Regions from separate parts of the Homo sapiens genome. Here region 2 is linked to region 1. The links are contacts of gene promoters, found by promoter capture Hi-C in human tissues and cell types (Jung and others, 2019). All regions are on one chromosome and are shown on one strand. The core of a region is centred on a gene start or on the middle of the fragment in contact, and the rest is flanking DNA. Distances in the headings are between cores, read along the strand shown.

Region 1 (5,738 bases), core at 1,469-3,968:
GTAATTACCTTAGAGTAGGAGAAAAGTAATGTTACCATCAGGAGAGGAGCCTGGGATTGGCAAGGAGGTAGGGGGCGATGGCTGTGGTGTTGCAAAGAGGAGTTACAAAAAAACTGAAATTAGGCTGATCTCTTCCACAAGCATAGCTTTTCTAAGCCATTTTCAGGGAACTCGGTGCAAAGTAAAATAACCATTTTTAAGCAAACACTGTTGCCCTTTGTCAATGAGCAGAGTCTAAGGAAGGCTCCCATCTCTTCAAATATTTGGAAAATTGGAAAGCCTTAATTAGTAATCCGAAAGGGAGCATGACGGAAGGAAAGAAATATAAACCTAATCACTGTGCTTTTCAGGTTTCAAATGCTTCCCCAATCCAGGTAATTTACACTTTAGTCACAGTGATTGACAGTCAAGGAATGTATCTAACTCACTTTTATTTTTTCCCTTGGGGAAAGCACTTGAGTTCCCAATTGTTTTAAATTGCAGAAGCAGTAATTGTCTTAGAGAGTTAGGAGAAATGGCTTTTTGGAGCTGCGATCTTTTTCTGAAGGGAATATAGAGTCTATTTTAATTGATTCAGGTCATTATGACTATTTTCTAGATGGTCTTTTCAGGGTGACTAAACATCACCTTAGTTAAAGGAGAACAGTAAGAAACTCATTAAAGGTCCAAGGGGAACAGACTTAATAAAAAATGTTAACAAGTTGCTACTGGTACCTAAAAGGAAACCAGGGATACTTTTTAAGTCACTTGCGTCCCAGATAGAATTACTGGTGAAATTTAATGTGACGAGTATTTTTTAAAGTATTCTAAAATAAACATGAGGCAGCCAATGTATTCTGAGATGCTCACTGTCCCAGAGGAAGTTGTTTCTTAAACTGTACACTTTGATATATTTGTTTCCTTAGAAAAGTCAAGTGTAACAAGCTAGGTCAATTGCATCAAGAACATTACTAACAGGCTAACCAATGGTAAATGTTGTGAAGGCTACTCTGGAAATCTGTGCTTTCACGTATGGGGAAACCCACACGTCTGATTTGGGATGGAGGAGACAATTGTGCATTGTTTGTAGGCGCCAACAGACAGGCTAAAGCCAGGGATCCTTGCAGAGACAGGATTAAGGTATCAGGACTGTTCACATCTCATTTACATCACCCCGAAGAGTGGACCACAGGTTTTGCTGATTAGTACACAGACTATGGCAAAGGGCATTGTGTATTTGAAATAAGATCAAGATCAGTAACAGTAACAGAAACTATGTGTGAAATTTGGCATATGGCGGTTCCTCTGAAGGATTAGCTAACTGGGTTTCCCGCACTTACTATTTTTTAAAGCATTTTTCCAAACCAGGAAGTTAGCAAAAGAAAAATGTCCCCCAATTCCCTCCGCCTACCCCACGTTCTGAAGCACATATATTTATGCCACCTTCTGGCCTCTAATAATATTATTTATTGTCAAAATTTTGGATCCTTTTGAAAGGAAGGTGGGGCGTATTTCCACAGTGTCTTCGCAGGCAAAAGAAAGTGGTAGATTGAGTATGAAGGCAGACAAATCAGGCTACTACCATTGGAGTATTTTCCATTCTTTCAATTTGTATTGTTCCTTCATCTTGGAGTTTGCAGTCAAGGTAACGATGATGCAATTATCTGCTTTCCTGGAGTTTTAGGTACCTACTAGGGGATGAATGTATTTCAATGGGAGGAGGGTGTAGAATGATGCCTATAATAATACGAATTATTAGGAGCTGTTAATTATCTGAATGTTATCCGGGCATTAGTAATGCCTCTCCAGTATATCTACCTTTTATGGATGAGACTGTACATTTAATAGGAAAAGTACCAGTGGGAATTGACAATTAGCAGCCACGCTTGAGCTAGATGCAGCGTGGCATGTTTTATCCAGCTTAGATAGTTGTCGACCAAACAGGCCAAAGTTTTCTTCAGTAGAAAATGCCCTGCCAAATGGTTTCTGGATCCTTCGCGGACAAACAGCAAAGGAGCTGAAAGCGACCTCTTTCAACCATGCCAGAAACTGTCCATGGCGCTTCTAGATTCACAAAATCTGTTTTAGACACAGATGTCTTTAACCAAGATTGGAAACCCACTGGCCGTCCCATCCCAAAGTAAAAAGTGCCACGTCCTCCCATCCTCCGCCTTCCTTGGGATGTCAGCCCCGTTCTAATTCCTTTTTAGTTTCTCCTCAGCCCTCGGCAGGGCTGGCAGGGGGCTACCTGCGATTTCCCAACGTGGACGTGGACAATCGGATTTGTCTCTACCCAAGCTGGCAGCGGATGGGGACGAGTTCTGTTCCCGAGAGAGTCTCAGAAGTAGGCACGGAATCATCTCACCGATTTTAATTTCTGTCCCTGGGCTGGGGAGAGGGGAGGATTGGGGCGCGGGAGGCTCTGTTCTCCTCCTCCCCTCTTTTCCCCACCTCCCAAAATTGGCAGCCAGTCTGTGGCTCTCGGTCTGGGGTCTGGAGGGTGGGGAATGTGGGTGTGGGGGCCGGCTGGAGAAGCTCTCGCTAGCGCTGCCTGTGGCCAGACCCGCCTCTTGTCCCCTTTCGGGCGCACACACACGTCCACCCAGACACTCCGCGCGCTCCCTCGCGCTTTTGCTTGCCCGCCCGCCGCCGCCTGCTTTTTCCCTCCTGCTTTCGCCGGTCGCCTTCTCCTTCTTTTTTTTTTTTTTTTTTTTTTTTTTTTTTTTTTTTTTTTTTTGGTACCATAGAGTTGCTCTGAAAACAGAAGATAGAGGGAGTCTCGGAGCTCGCCATCTCCAGCGATCTCTACATTGGGAAAAAACATGGAGTCAGCTCCGGCAGCCCCCGACCCCGCCGCCAGCGAGCCAGGCAGCAGCGGCGCGGACGCGGCCGCCGGCTCCAGGGAGACCCCGCTGAACCAGGAATCCGCCCGCAAGAGCGAGCCGCCTGCCCCGGTGCGCAGACAGAGCTATTCCAGCACCAGCAGAGGTAGGAGGCTGGAGAGGGGCTGGGGAGGGGGCGGCGGGAGCCCGGGCGCGGAGCGGGGGGCGGCCGGGAGCGGGCGCCCGGGGCGCGGGGTCCGGCGGCCGCGCGCGAGCCTGCGGCGGCGCCCCGAGCCCGGAGGACCCCCCTCCCCTCCCCCCTCCGCCCCCCAGAAATGTTGCAAACTTTTGCAGCCCGTTCTCGGCTTGCGGGAGCAGAGTGGGGCGGGGGAGGCGGCGGGAAGGTTGACAGCCGGCGGGCTCACCCCCCTGGCTTTGATTTTTCTGCAAACACTGGAGGAAAGCTGCGTTGCCTCAATTAAATACGCTCCCCCAAAATACGGAGATGCGGGGAGTGGGGGCCCGGGAAAGAAACTTTTAAAGCGGCAGTGTCCTTTTAAGAAGGGGCAAAAAAATCTGTTTATGGCCACCCTCCTTCCGCTTTACCTTTTCTCCTCTTGACAGTTTCGGCCCTGGCTGCCCGAGTCGGGGGTGTGTTTTCGGTCCCTCTCAGATCTGGGCGGGGGGCGGGAGGAGTGAGCGACCTGGGAAGTCCCGGGGGTGGAGAGGGGGCGCTCCGGGGTCTGGGGGCGACGTGGACACCTTCTTTGGAGCACGGCGGTGCGTTTGGGATTTGAAGGAAGGGCCGAAGGAAGCGGGGTGCGGGCGGGCGAGCTGTTCGCCAAGTTGTCTGGCGGGCGCGGCGAGGGGAGATGCGCAAGTTTGCAGACCGGGGGTTCGGAGCCCGGCGCCCAGGCTGGCGGGGGGCGTGTGCGCGCCAACGCGCAGAGGGCGGCGGTCCTGTGGGGCGCTCCACGCGCATCCGGAGGGAGCGTCTACAAAAGCAAGCACCGAAACTTATTTCTGCTCTGGGAATCCTTCCCTCTCGGAGGTTCCAAGCATTTCTGCAGGAACCTGGGGATGGTCAGTGCAAGTTGTATGCTGGTTGGATAGTGCAAGCAATGTTTTCTCCTCCCCTGGCGATTTTTACTCTTCATTTTGGTGTTTGGTCTGTGTCTGCGTGTGTTGGGGGGGATGGGGGGGACTCAGTTGCTCCCTCCTTTCCTAAAGTGAGCTGTTGAGGAAAGCTCACTCTTTCTTGAAGGTATTGGAACCTGATGTGTGTTTTTCTCGAGAGTGGGGGATTATTTATTTGAATGCGCCTGGAGTTTGCAAAGAACAGGAGGAAGCTACAGCTTTAATTACTGTTGTAAATAATGTATAAATCGCGCCTGTCACTCCGGAGGAAGCGTGCTCGCGCGAGCCGCCTGGAGCTGGGGACGGAGAGGATTTCTCCAGCCCCGGCTTGGGTACCGGCCCAGCGCGCCCCCTCCTCTTGCACTCGGCTTCTGGCGGCGGTTGGGGAGGGCTGGGTAGAGGCGAATGGGGGCCCCAGGAACTGCTCCCTTCCTCTCGATGTTGTAGTTGGAGGTAGGAATATGGCTGATCATGTGCTGGCTGTTTTACAGTATCCCCCCCCCCACCTTAGCCACACCCCCTGTCCAGGCGCTTTCCCATTCACGGAATTCGAGTACAGTAAAAGCCATCAGGATGACACACGCGAAAAACATTTAATTAAAGGCGATTTCCAAAGGGTGACCGCGGCGAACCGCGGTTTCAGCGGGAGGGGGGCGGCGAGGGCTGGGACAAAAGGGAAGGGGATGAGGGCTGGGGGCCTGGACCTGCCGCTAGCTCGGTGAGTTTGTGTGCGGGGAGCTTTTGGCTGCAAAGAGTATATTTAGACCCTGAGACGGTGGATTTGGAATGCGAGCGGGTTATGTAACAGGGTTAATCAGAAACACTGGAGAAAATCCCCTTCATGTGTTTCTGGGGCTTTTTTTTTTTTTTTGGAATGGGGGGGACATAGTATTTAGGAAGCTGCACTAATTTTTGGTTTGTGCTGCCACCTTTCTCCTTCTTGACCCCCCCACACCCTGTGTTATTAACATCTTCAGGTGTCATTCTTGCCAGAAGGTGTTCTTGCAAGCGATCAGGGTGGCAGGCTGCAGAGCCGACTAGCAAATCCGTAACTTGCTGTTCTTGCAAATTATGTAACGCCGGAGCATTCAGTGCCACCAGCCCCCTTAGGCTCAGCAAAAAGGGGAGAGGGGCATAGTAGGAGTGGGATACATCTTGCACAGCTGACCTGCTGACCCATATCCCCTTCCCCCCACCCTCTGCCCCCACCCCAACTCATTCTTTGAACCAGCCCCTGTCTGTCCCTCCTGGAAGATTTAATGGGAGGGGGGTGGTAAGGCCCAAACACTCAACTCACATCCTGCACGCAGGCACTAGGTTATATAACAGTCTGAATGGAAAAAGGAAGGTCAGAGATGGAGGCATCCTTTAGCTAACACAGCAGTAGTAATAGCTTCCAGAAATTATGTGCATTTGCAGACTTTAACCTCAGATGTAGCATCTGCTCCTCAGGGGTACCAATCTTTATGTGTGTGAGCTAGGGAGAAAAAGAGAGAATGTGTAAGTATGCCTGGTAGTTGAGAGTGATTTGAAAATGGGAAATGTTTGGGTTTTCAGATGATGTAATGGAGTTGGCAGAATATGCAAGCCGGCTCCCAGAGTGTAAGCAGTAAGAAAATTGGAGCTGGCATCCAGTATTAATGTTGCATAAATTACAATATCGGAAAGAAATTAACCTACACACTAGGTGATTATGCCTTTTAAATACTTAAAACATAAAGGCACACAACTAGAAAGGAAAAGCAAACATCATCACCTTATGATTAGCATTTTCAACCTCCAGGAGGGTGGAGTGGAGTT
Region 2 (6,213 bases), core at 1,824-4,323, 160 kb before region 1:
TGTGGTACTAATTCTCACCTGGGAAGAATTCACAGACTAGCTGGGGGCCTGGTCAGCAGCGATTCTTCGTAGTTTCTTGACATGGTGAGATGGGGGCCGTGAAGATTCCTCATCGTGTTGCTTCTCAGCAGATGTCTGTTAAGCAATTGAGAACTAGCAAGATCCCTTTCCAACAGTGATATTGGGGCATAGTCATGAGAACCTACATTTTTTTTTTTTTGAATCTGTATAAAATAAAGCTCATTTGCCTATAGGAATAATCCCTTTGAGGCCCCAGCATGATGATTCAGGCCTTCATTTCTCTGAGTCCACCATAGTCATCACACATTTCACAGGCCTGACTCTGGCACAAGAACTTTAAATAAACCCTCCGAACATGTTTTAAAGGGACATCACAAAAGCAAATTGCTATACTTAGTGCTAAGGTGTTAGAATTTTTTGTTTTAAGTAATGGAATGCTTGTTCATGACGTGAAAGAATTGCCTTACTAATGAGCTCGATGTTATAATATATTAAATACCAACTCTATATGTATAAATGGCAGGAACAATTATTAATACAGAATGTTAAACTTTCTAGAATATTATAAGGGCAAAGAATAAGTGACAAAAAATTTTAACAGACTCAGGAAGATTGCTGGCTGATATAGTTTGGCTGTGTCCCCACCCAAATCTCATCTTGAATTGTAGCTCTCATAATTCCCATGTGTTGTGGGAGGGAGCTGGTGGGAGATAATTGAATCATGGGGGTGGTTTCCCCCATACTTTTCTCGTGGTAGTGAATAAGTCTCACAAGATCTGATGGTTTTATAAGGGGAAACCCCTTTCACTTGGTTCTCATTCTCTTTTTGCCTGCTGCCATGGAAGATGTGCCTTTTGCCTTCCACCATGATTGTGAGGCCTCCCCAGCCACATGGAACCATGAGTCCATTAAACCTCTTTTTCTTTGTAAATTACCCAGTCTCAGATATGTCTTTGTCAGCAGTGTGAGAACAGACTAATATACTGGCAAATAGGAAGAACATACAATAAAATAAGGATTGTTTTTAACTTTCATTTTTATTTTAATTTTATTTGTTGAATTGTTAAAGTGTCACATATAACGTAGGTGTTTGTATGTATGCTCTGTATAAAAATTAACTGGAATGGAGGCAGATAAGTTGGTGAATTCTTATCCCATATTGGAAAGATCTCAAATTTAGAACCATAAGAAGCTGGGTTGAAATTTGTTTACCACTTAATTGACGTGTTACCTTAATGACTGTTGTAAACATTTTGAGCTCTATAGAATCAGGATCAAAATACTTACCCATTGTACATATGATGATAAAGCATCTAAGAGCATACCATTCTTCAATGAGTGCCTAGCACACTTTATGGAATGAGTTATTTTCTTCAGTTATTTCCCCTTCCTGCCTCTACCCTCTTTGCTATTTATCTTTACAGTGCTTTCTCACTGTGAGCAGAATGTACTCCCTTGACTTTTGATTTGGGTTTGATCACAAAGTATACCTTGGACAAGAGAATGCAGCAGATTGTAACATTATGCCAGTTCCTAGAAGAGGCCTCAAGAGACCTTATGTGTTTCTGCTCTGCTCTTGCTCCTCTGGCATCACTGTGAGAACATGCTGGCCTAGCTTGCTATTCTCAGGAGGAGCTTTCTTAACTAAGTTGAAGAGTGGAGCTTTCCTAACAAAGTTGCCTTAGCTTAGAGCAGAGGCTCTACCACTTTCCTGTCCCAGCCAATCCACAGACACATGAGTATGCCCAACAAGGATGACCAGAGCCACCCAGATGAGCCCAGCCTACATTAGCCAATTTGCAACAAACCCCTAGAAACATGGGTTATAATAATGTTACCTATAAATTTATAAAACAAATTGTGTTAAACCACTGAGCATTGAGTTGGTTTATTACACAGCAGTCACTGACTGATACACTCATACTGGGTACCTAATAAGAACTTTTCTAATAAGAACCAGAGTTGAAAAGCTACAATGTATAAATCTGTTTACTACATATCTATTTACACCAGTTTGGCCCCTTAACTCAGCTGTCTGTACATCTATAACTGAGGCTACAGGCACCCTGTAAAAAGTGGCTAGAGATTCCTTCAGCAAACTCAAGGTTGGTCTCCAGTCTCTTCTTCTCTGACAAGGTACCCTCTGGTTCCATCATTTAGTACCTGGATTCTTCTCCTTGGCCAAGCCATGCAGACTTTCGTCTTGATCATCCAAACAGCTTGGCTTTTTTACTTTGATTGCTGCTGGACACACTCTGTCTCATGGTATTCACCTTTATCCCGAGTTCAGGGGGCTCATTGCACCACATCCCCATATTCAGCCGAAGCCCTGGGATACAAGTTCTGAATTCTCATTTGTCTATGAAGAAAGGCTGAGCAAGAAGTACCCATAAGATAATGGCTTAAGCAGCATTCTCATTGTAACCTTTGTTAAAATCACTTGGCTAAACAATTCTTAATTGTGGTCTGAGGGCAAAGCAAGGCATTTAATAGTCATATCAAAATTCTCCTCTCAGGTAAGTGGGAGCACAGAACAGTAGAATCCCAGAAGCTTGTAATGGGCAGAGGGTATAGGGAGACTTATCTTTGGGTCTATAGGGAATACAAAAGAAGATGGCCCAAGAGGCGACCTTCATTAGTGAAATCAAAATCAGAAGCCAAGTAGACAGTTCAACTGAAATGTTTATATGTGGGATATGAGCCAGGAGGCAGAATCTAGGGTTGAAGTAACAGGTCAGAAACCAGGAACCCCAGTCCGTATGAGAATGAAAAGATTTCTACAGGAGATGGAAACAGATCCTGGAGAACTTCTTTAAACTCTTCATGGAGCTCCTAAAGGCTCAACTGTGGCTGGAGAAAAAGCCCCCCATGTCACATGCCAACCCCAAATGCACCTTCAAAGAACTAGAAACTGACTAGTCATTACTGTCAGAAGATCTCTAACAGCTCTTGGCTGTGTGTATAACACAAATTCAAAAAGTGAGTCCCATCTAACCACCTTTCTCCCAATTATCCCAATCATTCTACAGTAGAAAAGGGAACAGAACAACTGCCCTAATTCACCACACCCTGGAGACAGCTGAGCTTTCTCATTTCCCAGGGATCCCATGGGTGCAGGGAGATGTAGTTGACAGTGGAGAGAATTGCTATCGATATACAAAGAAGTTGTTTCTATCTGGCCACGGGGCATGTGAAGTCATAGAATTTTAACATAGAGGTGGGAAAAGGGATGGGGAGGATTAGAACACCTAGAATGAATTAATCTTCCAAAGGTGGAATTAGTGGAGACCCAGGTATGGATGTAATTTCAAATGTCTAGTAAATCTTTTCACCCTTCAAAAATATCTTGCATCTCTGCCTTAAGTAGTATCATTAAAGATCCATTTACTTGGTTAGAAGAATACTTTAAATATTTCTCTAAGAATATTATTATACATTTGTCCTTGGGAGAGATAAGAATCAGAATCGAGTAAGAATCTGCTAGTCATTTAAACCTTAATGGCAATTAATTTAATAGAAAGAGGGTGGAGAAAGACAGACAGACCTAGTGGAATTTCATGGAGGGTATCAGAGGCCCAACCCCTGGCTGTAAAAAGGATGGGAGGGAGGGTAGGGACTAGGAGACAAAGTAGAAGTGAGAGAAACACAAGAAGTGAGAAAAACACAAGAAGTGAGAAACACTTTACATACTTAATAACTAGAATGGTGAAAACAAATAGAAGAAAAGGACAAGCCAGGGTTCTAGCGTCTTCCCCAGTCTGCTTAGAGGACCAACTAAATTTACATTGGTAGAGCATCTAACACAAGGCTACACACACACAGGGTATCTAATAAATGACCATTATCATTACTTTTATTATTATAAGTAGCTTTTATTTTCCTAAGGAGATGCCTCTGTTCTGAAAACAAGTGCCCAGAGACCAGTCTTTGAGGGTCAGGTTCTCAATCTCTTAACCTCTTTTACACCTACTCTTCAATCCTCATTCTACCCAATCCTCCTGGCCACCAAGTCTGCTGCCCATCTCCCATGTAAGCCCTCCCTTGCCCCACCTCTCATTTGGATCTACCATCTGGTTCCATGGTCTTTTCTTCTTGTCTGTTTTTCTTTTAGTTCCTTTGTTTAGTTTACAGACATAACACCCTTCCGAGAATAAACCATCCTCCAGACTCTCCTACTATATACGGTTCCCCTTAGGCAGACCTTTCTAGTCCGTCCTGAACTCAAAGGAACAACCTTCATGGAAAGAAACTTGTACATTTGGGAAACCTGAATGTGAGACCTGGCACTGCCTCTTGGTAGCTCTATGACCTTGAAAACTCACTTATCATCTGTAAGCCTCAATTTTCTTATCTGTAAAACTGGGATAATGTTTCCCACCCTGTCTATTTATTCAGCATACAACCCAGGTTTATTGACAACAAGTAATGAGGACACTACAGTGAATAAAATATAGGAATGATCCTTCTCTGCACAGAGCTTACAGTCCGGGGGGATTCAGACATTAATCGAATAATATAAATAAACATAAAATAATAAATTTGACTTACAAATAAAGATAAAATATTAACTGTGGCAGGCACTGTGAAGAAGGGATGTTGGGCATATAATAGAAAGATTTTATGGAGTAATGGAATCAGGGAAGATTGACTTTTCCTGAGGAAGTGAAGCTTGAATTAGCGTTTGAAGGTCAAATACAAGAAAACTGAACCAAAAGAAGTAGAGTACTCTGAGCAAATGGAACAGCATATTCAAAGGCCTCATGGTCATAAAAATATAGTGGTCTTTGTGATGCCCTTGAAAAATCAGAAAAATACGCCCCTTTTTTCCCCAGACACTTTATTGCTAGCTGCCAGAAGATTGTTGAATTCTTGGATGTGCGTGATGTTAACTGATGCCCCTTAGTGTTGTGCATTGCAAAACCTGCAAAACGGTATAAGACAACTCCAATTTAAGAAACGGAAGAAAGAAAGCCTGACCGGGCGCGGTGGCTCATGCCTGTAATCCCAGCACTTTGGGAGGCCGAGGCGGGTGGATCACCAAGTCAGGAGATCGAGACCATCCTGGCTAACATGGTGAAACCCCATCTCTACATAAAATACAAAAAATTAGCCGGGCGTAGTGGCGGGCGCCTGTAGTCCCAGCTACTCGGGAGGCTGAGGCAGGAGAATGGCGTGAACCCGGGAGGCAGAGCTTGCAGTGAGCCGAGATCACGCCACTGCACTCAGGCCTGGGCAACAGAGCGACAGACTCTGTCTCAAAAAAAAGAAAGAAATGAAAGAAGGCCCATGTGGCTCCACCTGGAAGAGTGAAGGAAGCATGATGTCACATAAGTCAGGAAAGAAAGGTGGTGGTCATGCAAAGGAATCTTGTCTTTATTCTAAAAGTTTTAGGAAGTCACACTATCAGATCTTCATTTTTCAAAGAGTACTGGCTACTGTAGAAGTCTTGGGTTAGAGTAGAGTCAAAGGGGCTGCAAGTAGATAAATTTGGAGGTTACTACAGTCACTCAGAATATGATGGTGGGAGTTTAACTGGGGTGGTAGTAATGTTGGAGAGATAATTAGACAAATCAAGGCCATATTTACCTGGTAAACTGACAGGACTTGGTTTTGAAATATATAAAAAGATAAGGAGATGAAGGTTTTCAGAATGGTCTCCATACTTTCTGGTAGATGAATGGTAGTCCCATGCACTGTGGAGCTGTCAAAAACATAAGGGGTCTGAGCTTTTACCTTACTTGGAAGCTAATATGTTAGTCTGCCACAGTTTTATGGATGCTGGAAGAAGACATGAGACTGTGATTCAGAGATGAAGAACTTTATTACTCATCCCAGAGCAGGCAGTATGAGCTTCATGTTTGCATCAGTTTCCCATGCCCCCAAGTCCCACGGGGATTCACAGAGTGGCTAAGGTGCATGCCATACACACAGTGGCTTTGCATCACAGCTGAGGAACTCCAAGCTTAGGAAGCCCAAATCTTTTATAATGAGCTGTATGAAAATCTGCCCGTTGCCCTGGAAGACAACATAATCTTTCTTACACTGAACAGTGAACAAATCTGCTCTTTGTTCCAGAGGTTGATGCTCCTGATAAAAACATCCTTAATGAGACAGTCCACCAAAAAGGCTGTCAGTGCGTTTGCTTACAAGATGTACAGAAATATAAGACATCCATGGGAAATTGTTTCACAA

Evidence for each region. The method cuts DNA at HindIII sites, captures the fragments that hold promoters and counts their contacts. A contact is called where the count stands out against the background at its distance.
Region 2: a contact is called between a fragment that was not itself captured here and the fragment with the promoter of RORA in region 1, in 2 of the 25 tissues and cell types used here (heart right ventricle and pancreas).

What each region holds. Positions count from the first base shown.
Region 1 is chr15:61,226,282-61,232,019 of GRCh38, reverse strand. RORA (RAR related orphan receptor A) reads left to right here and starts at 2,718. Exons shown (of 11, transcript NM_134261.3): 1 at 2,718-2,967. The coding sequence starts at 2,802. The HindIII fragment of the contact is 14,135 bases long and covers 1-5,738 here.
Region 2 is chr15:61,383,286-61,389,498 of GRCh38, reverse strand. No RefSeq gene overlaps it. Among named protein-coding and RNA genes, the nearest start is that of RORA, 160 kb to the right of the region's middle. The HindIII fragment of the contact is 4,527 bases long and covers 810-5,336 here.